Regions from separate parts of the Homo sapiens genome. Here all the other regions are linked to region 3. Evidence: promoter capture Hi-C in human tissues and cell types (Jung and others, 2019). All regions are on one chromosome and are shown on one strand. The core of a region is centred on a gene start or on the middle of the fragment in contact, and the rest is flanking DNA. Distances in the headings are between cores, read along the strand shown.

Region 1 (3,419 bases), core at 732-3,231, 130 kb before region 3:
TTGCTACTCAAGGAAATAACTTGACAGGCCTTTTAAGCTTGTGATTTAATTAAGCCGGAATGAAATTACTTATACACATTTTTACAAATTGCAAAAATTACAAATTATGTAAATTACAAAACCACATTTTATGCACTTTCACTCATGATATACCCACCTTAGTTATAAATTAGACTAATAAATGCAAAACAAAGGTAATCCTTCAAAAAACCCAAACTGTGTTGAAAAATACAAACTGAAGTTTTCAACAATCCCCAAAATAAAAATTAAAAATCAAATCTCCCCAAACTCTTCTTTAGTCATTTTACATAAACAGCATGCAAAACAAGCTAACAACACATTATAAAGTTCAGTGTAAAAACAGAAAACATACTCCAAAGGTAAAAGCTGTAAGTTTAGTTTAGATGTGATATCACATTTTGGAGTTACCTGCATACATAAAATTTCAATCATGAGGGATTATGGGTGATTTCTCGAAGGTCTTAAATTTCCATTTTTAATACTGGTGTATCATAGATTTAAAACCACTGTCCAGGAGCAGTGGCTCACACCTATAATCCCAGCACTTTGGGAGACCAAGACAGGCAGATCACCTGAGGTCAGGAGTTCGAGACCATCCTGGCCAACATGGTGAAACCCCGTCTGTACTAAAAATACAAAAATTAGCCGGTATGGTGGCGGGCACCTGTAATCCCAGCTACTCAGGAGGCTGAGGCAGGAGAATTGCTTGAACCCAGGAGGCAGACACTGCAGTGAGCAGAGATTGCGCCATTGCACTCCAGTCTGGGCAACAAGAACGAAACTCCATCTCGAAATAAATAAATAAATAAATAAATAAATAAAACCACTAACATTACATAAGGTGGGTAAAATTTTAGAGCAATTATGACAATCTCCCATTTAAAAACATTACAAATCAGAAACTTACTTGTGGAGGAATGATGTTTTCAATACTGATACCAACATACACCAAGCGTTCTTTTCTTTAGGTGAAAAACAAACAAAATACATGAGATTTGCAGAAAATAAAACTGTTATGTAAACATCACGAATACACATAATGTTAAAATTACAATTTCACGTTAACAGCAGAGGGTAAGTCACAGAAATGTTAGCTATTATTTATTTATTTATTTATAGACAAGGTCTCACTCTCTTGCCCAGGGTGGAGTGCAGTGGCGTAATCTTAGCTCACTGCAACCTCTACTTCCCGGGTTCAAGTGATTCTACTGCCTCAGCCTTGCAAGTAGCTGGGATTACAGGTGAGAGCCACCACAACCAGCTAATTTTTGTATTTTTAGTAGAGATGGGGTTTTGCCATGTTGGCCAGGCTGGTCTCAAATTCCTGGCCTCAAGCGATCCACCCACCTTGACCTCTCAAAGTGCTGGGATTATAGGTGTGACCACTGCTCCTGGCCCATGTTAGCTATTAAGTATAAAACTTTAATATAGTATTAGTATGTGTGGGGAGCTCAACATTTCCTAGGGTTAAGATAACAATATCTTTCAGAAATGACTTACATTGGTGAAATAAAACCTATAACTGAAATAAGACAAGCAACTTCATCAAGAGTCATGCTGTGACAAGTTGATAAGATTAGATGGAAAGCCACCTTTGATTAGACAAATTAGATCTTTGTTATGCTGGAGAAAGTTTTTAGTAATATTTTGGGTGTATGTATAAACAATTATAAACTCATGGTAATAAATATTGCTATAAAAATTATGTAAACAAAACCTTATCAAGGTCCCAGTGAATGACACTGAGACCATTCATTCCTTGCTGTTGAAAGAGAAAAAAGCAATGCAGACGTATAGCTCTGTGCTCTAGAAGGCCACAGCTGAAGATAACTAGAGCCAGGAAATACAGACTTGAGCCAATGACATCTCCATAGTTTCATTTCCAAGAAACAAACCTTTGTTGATTTTAATTAAATTACATATTAAAAAAACAGCAGGATGGCTGGGTGTGGTGGCTCATGCCTGTAATCCAAAGCAGGAGGTCCCCCGACGCTGGGAATTCAAGACCAGCTGGGCAACACAGTGAGACGCCTGTTTCTATAAAAATTGAAAAAATAAAAATTGGCCAGGTATGGTGGCACACACCTATTGTCCCAGCTACTCAGAAGGCTGAGATGGGAAGATTACTTGAACTCAGGAGTTGGAGGTTGCAGTGAGCTTTGATCATGCCACTGCACTCCAGCCTGGGCATCAAGAGTGAGACCCTGTCTCAAAAAAAAAAAAAAAAAAAAGCAGGTGTTTTCCCTGGTTCTCTCAAAGTTAATCCAATTCAAGAACAGCTGAGCTCTGACATGCCTCTGTATGTTAAATTGAACTGAACTGAAATAGTAATCATTCTGTCTCTCTCTGCTTGTAATGTTCCTTATATAAGGATATTAATGTATCCAGCTGGCTAGGTCTTTTAGAGTGCAGCCTTTAGTGCCCTGCTAACAAGAATATTCATGGTCTTTTTAGAGATAGGTTGTGATGCTATTAAAACTGGTATGTTTAAAAATCATTCAGTGGACTTCTAAAACATCAGATTTCACAGAGCATCACACCATCAGGTCTGTAGACAGTTGCTGGCTAGCCACTAAATACTCACTGAAATGTATATCCATCCCTCTTTTCCACAAGACTGTAGAGACCTCTATGGTAAAGACCACATTATATACTTCCTCATTTGATTACACTCATTGGCATAAAGTAGGTACCCAATACATGTTGCTTAAATGTTGAATGACTGCATAAACAAGGGTTGCTTAGGGAGTAAACAGGGAGTAAAATGCTCTTGTATTATGACATAGGGAGTAAGTACACCTCTAAGCTGCTAGGATGAATGCTAATAAGTTATTTCACAGATTTTTAAAAAGTGAATATAAGTGCTTACTTTAGAAAACTGAATGACGATGGCTAGAATTTACAGCTAATATTTATTTTAGAAACACATATTTTGCTGTTTAGAGCTCCTAAGATTCATATACATGTGTGTGTATACATGCACACACACACATACTTGTATTCTAGGAACTATATACAACAAAAGCTTTGTTAACCAGATTATTAGGGAGAATCAGCAAACACCAACAACAATCCATTAACTGGCTCTGTGCCAGACTGGTCTTCCTGTAACAGTAACTTTCCTTTCTTTTCTATACACAATCTGAGAACTTAGTGTATGATATAAAGTCATAATTACAGATGTCCTCTTAAAGGATGACATTTAAAGCCAGGTGTGGTAGCTCATGCCTGTAAACCCATAATTTTGGGAGGCCAAGGTTACCCACCTTGGGTAACCTTGGGTAGATCACTTGAGGCTAGGCATTTGAGACCAAGCTGGCCAACATGGCAAAACCCCATCTGTAGTAAAAAATACAAAAATTAGCCGGGTGTGGTGGCGTGTGCCTGTGGTCCAAGCT
Region 2 (3,299 bases), core at 800-3,299, 160 kb after region 3:
GAAGCAAACTTCACAGATATATATTTCCTCTCACAGGGGAGACGTACTTACTCTCCCACACACATAATCCCTAGTTTTTTCCATTTAAGCTGTTTTTTTTGTTTTTTTGTTTTTTTTTTTAAAGACAGAGTCTCACTCTATCACCCAGACTGGAGTGCAGTGGCTCAATCTCCACTCACATAACCTCCGTCTTGCAGGTTCAAGCGATTCTCCTGCCTCAGCCTCCCTAGTAGCTGGGATTACAGGCAGGCATCACCGTGCCCGGCTAATTTTTTTTGTATTTTTAGTAGAGATGGGGTTTCACCATGTTGGTCAGGCTGGTTTCAAACTCCTGATGTCAAATGATCCGCCCACCTCTGCCTCCCAAAGTGCTGGGATTATAGGTGTGAGCCACCGCACCTGGCCCTATTTAAGCTTTTAGTATTGTACTTGTCAAAGTGTTTTTGGTTTTATGTATGCCTGTTGTTTTAAGATAAATCAAGTAATCTTTCCTGCATCTCTGAGATAGCTTTCTAATTTCAAGAATATAATACTCTAACACAATTCAAATGCATTTGACTTTTTTATATTCTCAAAGTTATCAAAAAGATCCAAAGTAAAATCAATTCTACAGGGTTCTAGGGGTTGCTGTGTATACACAAAGAGGCTAATTAACCTCCAAATTAAATCAAAAGGCACAATTAATGTATTAATACATGTATTTAAAAATCAGAAAAAAAGAACGTACAAAACTTTTCCCATACATTTACTTGTGTATAGTTGGTCTGTTTATTGAAGCAACAAGGCATAATAAAAACAAAACAAGTTTGGGGTCAGAAAAAATACAGTTTATACCCTGGTACTGCAACCTCCTAGCTGTGCAAACTTAGACAAATCAGACTCCATAAATCTTAATTTTCACCTTTGTAAAAGAGAAATAACGGTACTTACTTGAAGGATTGTGAGGACCAAATGAAAAACTGAATACAAAGCACCATAACAAGCAGAGTGCATTATTAGGCACAATATACACAGTAACTATGTACTGTAATTATTTTCATTTGTTTTGAAAGGATGACGAAATACACTTTATAACAAGTGTACTTAACTTTATTCCTAATCCAACACCAAGAGATGAAAAAAATAAGGCAGCTCCTAAAACCATTAATGGTCCTTAGCAGTCCTCAGTTACCAGTTTAGGATGGATCTGAATAGATTTTATACTCTTACCTTGCAGGCCACATCAACTAATCGCATTTGGATAGCTTGATTCTCTGGTAGCTTAGTGCCAATTGCAAGCAAAGTATCCAGCAGTTGAGCTAGGACTTGATGAGACTCTAGAGAGGGAGATAGAAAGTTGGCTTGTAGAATTTCGAAAGGGGTAACTATATAAACTAATTTACTTGGGTAAAGAATGTAGATTGGCTAGGCGCAGTGACTCACAACTGTAATCCCAGCACTTTGAGAAGCCTAGGCAGGAGAATCCCTTGAGCCCAGGAGTTCAAGACGAGCCTGGGCAACATAGGGAGACTCCGTTTCTACAAAAATAAATCTGAAAAAATGAGTCAGCCAGGTGGTGTGCGCCCAGAGTCTCAGCTACTTAGGAGGCCGAGGTAGGAGGACTGCTTGAGCCTCAGAGATCAAGGCAGCAGTGAGCCGTAATCGCGCCACAGCACTCCAGCCTGGGCAACAGAGCGAGACCCAGTCCTAAAAAAACAGAAAAAAAAACAGACTTTTGTCAACTGGGTTCTACTGTGTGATCCTTCATGCCCTCAACTAAAAGCTAAGTTCCTAAAGGGATCATGTTTAAATGTCTGAGTCCTCCACGGGATAGAGTACAGTTCTATATACATAGTGTGCTCCAAAAATGTTTAGTGCTTGACTGATTCAAGAGTTTTTTCACACTAAGAAACAGAAAAAAAAAAAAAAGGCCAGGCACGGTGGTGGCTTATGCCTGTAATCCCAGCACTTTGGGAGGCTGAGGCGGGCAGATCATGAGGTCAGGAATTCGAGACCAGCCTGACCAACATGGTGAAACACCATCTCTACTAAAAACACAAAAAATAGCCAGGCATGGTGGCACGTGCCTGTAATCCCAGCTACTCAGGAGGCTGAGGCAGGAGAATCGCTTGAACCCGGGAGGCGGAGGTTGCAGTGAGCCGAGATCGCTCCACTGCACTCCAGCCTAGGCGACAGAGCAAGACTCCATCTCAAAAAAAAAAAAAAAAAGAAGAAACAGAAAAAAAAAAAAGTTTTCCATTGCCTTCAAGATAAAGTCCAAATATCCTAGAAGGCATATAATACATACATACCAGGCCTTCCATGTTGTCTACCCTTGCCTATCTTTCTAGCTTCATCTTTTTCAGGTCTCCTTTAACACTCTTTTTTCCAACTACTTATAATTACATGCCCCCTATCTTTGCTCAGGCTAACTTCTCTAAGTAGAATGCCTTCCCCCACACCTGACTCCATTCTTGACCCCACTCCCCACTGAACACCTAGTTATCCTTAAAATGTCACCTCTCATGTAGCTACCATAAGAATTTTCCATGGGAAAAAATGATACTTCTGTACTGAAGCAATGCTATTGTTTTGGTGCTTGTATTTATTTTTTTATTTTAATTTATTTTTTGAGACAGCGTCTCGCTCTGTCACCCAGGCTGAAATGCAGTGGCATGATCATGGCTCACTGCAGCCTCAATCTCCTAGGCCCAAGAAGTCCTCACATTTTAGCCTCCCAAGCAGCTGGGATAAAGGTGTGAGCAACCATGTTTGGCTAATTTTTTAATATTTTGTAGAGACAAGATCTAATTATGTTGCCCAGACTGGTCTCAAATTCCTGGGCTCAAGGGATCCTCCCACCTCGACCTCCCAAAGTTTTGGTATTACAGGCCTAGCCTAACCTGTGCCTAGCCTGTTTTAGTGCTTTTAAAAATGTGTCTTGGCCGGGCACAGTGGCTCACGCCTGTAATTCCAGCACTTTGGGAGGCTGAAGTGGGTGGATCACAAGGTCAGGAGATCAAGACCATCATGGCTAACATGGTGAAACCCTGTCTCTACTAAAAATACAAAAAAAATCAGCCAGGGCGTGGTGGCAGGCACCTGTAGTCCCAGCTACTTGGGAGGCTGAGGCAGGAGAATGACGTGAACCCGGGAGGCAGAGCTTGCAGTGAGCCGAGATCGTGCCACTGCACTCCAGCCTGGGAGACAGAGCGAGACTCCGTTAAAAAAAAAAAAAGTTTCTTGATGGAACGAGTACTGTATGTTCAGTTACAGGTTTCAGTGTAAGCTGAAATAATCCTTTTAGAAAGCAATAGGGT
Region 3 (3,244 bases), core at 215-2,714:
AAAACGTTTCTTCTCCAGCCAAGGGCTGTTTCCAGATAAAGGCAATGCTCAGAGTATAACAAAAAAGCCTTCTCTGAGGAAAGAAAAGTGCCAGAAAAGGAGAGGCAGGGATCGGGAATAAATGGGGGTGAGTATAAGCACTCAGTGTGAAGGCTGGAGGCAGCAGGCGCAGCGCTGAGATGCTCCAGCAAAAGAACCAGCAGCAGCAGCAGGAAGTTTCAATGGGGCCGGGCAGAGCATGCGCCCTGCACCCGCGCGGTGGCCTTATGTGGAAGGAGCACCACTTGCGAACACCAATAATAGACCAGCGGCACCAGAGAGAGAAACATGAGCAACAAGCACCTTCTTCAACTGTTTCCCCCTCCGTCAGAGCCCCTCCTCCAGCTTACATACTAACCACCCCACCCTACCGTGCAAATGGGAGGGAGACGACTTCTTCGCCTAAGCCCGGCTGCCAAGATGAAGGGGGAAGGGATTGGAAAAGTGGGGAGATGCTCGCCTATTATTTTGGGGGAGGTGGGGAGAGGAAGGAGAACTATGGAGGAGGAATTAACCCTCTCCTCTCCACAGTGGAGCTGAACCGACTTCGCCCCCCTACCGAGAATGGAGAAGAACCCCCTCCCGTGGGGGAGGAGCAGACCTCCCCACTTCAAGGAAGGAGTTTTAGGGGTTAAAGCAGCCCTCGAGGGGAAGGGAAAAGGGACAAATCTCTCAGGGGAGTTCCCAACAGAGGGAGGGAGAGTTGAGTGTCCGCTGGCCCCCGCCCACCCAGGTGAAGGGAGATAAGGAGGTGTCCGGAGCAGCCGAGCCCAGCCTTCCCCGAGATGGTCGGGAAGACTGGTGGGAGGAGGGGAGGGAGTAAGGGTGGGGAGGAGGAGAAAAGCGCAAAGCTGGCCGGAACCTGCGCTCCCCTTCCCCCGCCGCCAAGGGGGAGACGGGGTGGGGGGCCGCCCTCCGCCGCGGAGAAGCAGTCCCCGGGGCTGCCGACCGGCACAATGACCCCTCCCCGCCTCCAGCCCACACCTAGCCCGCAACGCCTCCACCTCAGCTCCCCGCCCGGCCGAGTGGCCCTAGGGGGCCTCCGCCCCGCCTCCCCACTGCCCAAGACCCCGGGGGCTGGGCGGAGAAGACCAGCCCGGCGGAGTTGCGTCCCAGGGGGAAGACAGAGCCGCGGAGGCCCGAGCCGCGAAGAACCGGGGCGCCTGTGAAGAGCGGAGAGTAGCAGAGCGCCAGGGCCGCTTCCCGCCGGGCGTTCGGGCCCCTCGCTTACCTTCTCCGTTGCCGACGTCCGGCGGCGGCGCCTGCAGCACCCGCTCCAGCTCAGGGAACGGCAACTCAGGCAGGTCTAGCAGCGGCCCGTAGCGCTCCAAGAAGGAGCAGACTACGGCGAAGTTGGGGCACGAACCCGGGCAGCCCGGAGGAGCCATCACCGCCGCCGCTGCCGCCGCCGTCGCCATTTTGAACTGGAGGATGGAGGAGGAGGCGATGGGGGGGCGGGGGAAGTTGTGGTGCCGAGGGATGGCAAGGCAACCTTACAGACGACAGGAGGCGCTCTCAAGTGGGCTCCTCTGCGGATCCCAGCGTCTCAGGGACGGCTCCGCGATCCCACAATACATCGGCGGCCCGGAGCAGTCGAGAACCGAGTCAGACGGGAGACAGAGCGGCCCTCGGCGCCTTTCACTTTCCGCCCTCTTTCCGCCCCCTTCTCTCCTCCCCTTCGGGCTTGCCACTGCCTCGTGTGACAGGGGGAATGAAAACAAGGGAAGCGGGGCGGGGAGGCGGGCTGGAAGCGGGAGGGGCGGGACTTCTCGAGAACAATGGCCAATGGACGCAGAGGGGGCGGGGCCTCGGGCGCTGTTCAACTGCAGGGCGTATTCCCGGAGGGCAGTTGGGGAGCGCAGATCCCGAAGCAGCGCTGGGAGCGTAAGTGCGGGCAGAGCACTGCGCCGTTTGGGAACGCAACTTTGAGGAGACAGTGCGGTGGGTGAGTTTGCGGGGGAATCCTGAAACTGGGCCACGAGATGGTGGAGAGGTTGAGGAGAATTAATAAACAGAAAAAGGGAATAGGGCGGGGGAAAGCACAGTTGTGGGAGAAGGTTGGGAAGGGGAAAGGTAGAGGTGTGCCCTTAATTAGGGGCTGGGCTGGGACCTCGGTAAGATGTCTCTGTGGAAGTTTGCCGACGGGGTATTGCTCTCTGCTGGGGTACAGGAATCGCAGCTTTGCTGGAAAAGCAGGATCTGAGGGAACGGAACTCTGGGGGAATCGTCGGAGTGAGGAGTTGGGGCCCTGCTGGGAGAAGAGGATCTGAGGAGACCAGGCTCTGCTAGGGGGCCATGGTGTGAGGGGAAGGGGCTCTGTTCAGGGACCAGAATCGGAGTGTGGGCTGGGACTCCATTGAGAGGCGGAACATGACAGGAGACGGTGGAGCAGCGAAAAGTTTGTTAGAAGACAGGGTTCCACTTCGGGGCGGGGCGGGGGCAGTGAACATTCCCACAAAGAACGCCAGAGAGAAACTACCAATAATGTAAAATAGAATGTGCAGCCTGAGAAGCAGCAGTACACGTTATGCTTAGAAGCCTGAGCTTTGGATTCAGCCAGGCCTGAGTCCTAGCGGGGCTACTTCATGACACTGTGGAGGTTTCTTTATTTCTTTGAACTCCTTAGAGTGGGGTGATAATAGTACCTACATCATACGGTATTACTAGATAAATCACAGTAAAGTGATTAGCACAGTGCCGTAGCACATAGTGAGTACTTTAAAAATATTAGTTATCAAAAAAGGAGTTCCTATAATTTAGACTGAATTCCGCTATATTTATTTAGTCTATAATTTATTACTTTGAGAATTTTCTGAGTGCATTTAAAACTCAATGTAGTACCTAATTCCTAAAAAGAATTTGGCCGGGCGCGGTGGCTCATGCCTGTAATCCCAACACTTTGGGAAACCGAGGTGGGTGCATCACCTGAGCTCTGCAGTTCCAGACCAGCCTGGGCAACATGGTGAAACCCCGTCTCTAGTAAAAATAACGAAAATTAGCCGGGAATCCTTGGGAGGCTGATGCAGGAGAACCCCTTGAACCGGGGAGGCGAAGGTTGCAGTGAGTCGAGGTCGCGCCACTGCACTCCAGCCTGAGCGACAGAGCAAGACTCCACCTCAAAAAAAAAAAAAAAAAAAAAGAATTTGAAGCAAGGTACAACACAAACCATGTAAAAAAGAGAAATCTGTAATTATAGAAAGATAAG

Evidence for each region. Contacts are between HindIII fragments. The study calls those that stand out against the background at their distance.
Region 1: a contact is called between a fragment that was not itself captured here and the fragment with the promoter of RSF1 in region 3, in 2 of the 25 tissues and cell types used here (aorta and dorsolateral prefrontal cortex).
Region 2: a fragment that was not itself captured here is called in contact with the fragment with the promoter of RSF1 in region 3 in 1 of the 25 tissues and cell types used here (mesenchymal stem cells).

What each region holds. Positions count from the first base shown.
Region 1 is chr11:77,684,177-77,687,595 of GRCh38, forward strand. It overlaps RSF1 (remodeling and spacing factor 1), which reads right to left. Exons shown (of 16, transcript NM_016578.4): 10 at 929-983. Among named protein-coding and RNA genes, the nearest start is that of CLNS1A, 48 kb to the left of the region's middle. The HindIII fragment of the contact is 6,273 bases long and covers 1-3,419 here.
Region 2 is chr11:77,977,787-77,981,085 of GRCh38, forward strand. INTS4 (integrator complex subunit 4) reads right to left here. Exons shown (of 23, transcript NM_033547.4): 4 at 1,210-1,316. Among named protein-coding and RNA genes, the nearest start is that of INTS4, 15 kb to the right of the region's middle. The HindIII fragment of the contact is 5,857 bases long and covers 1-3,299 here.
Region 3 is chr11:77,819,258-77,822,501 of GRCh38, forward strand. It overlaps RSF1 (remodeling and spacing factor 1), which reads right to left and starts at 1,465. Exons shown (of 16, transcript NM_016578.4): 1 at 1,271-1,465. The coding sequence starts at 1,457. It overlaps AAMDC (adipogenesis associated Mth938 domain containing), which reads left to right and starts at 1,887. Exons shown (of 4, transcript NM_024684.4): 1 at 1,887-1,984. RefSeq lists enhancers at 1-819, 115-224, 820-1,792, 1,345-1,514, 1,525-1,664 and silencers at 855-944, 1,085-1,174, 1,765-1,924. The HindIII fragment of the contact is 12,017 bases long and covers 1-3,244 here.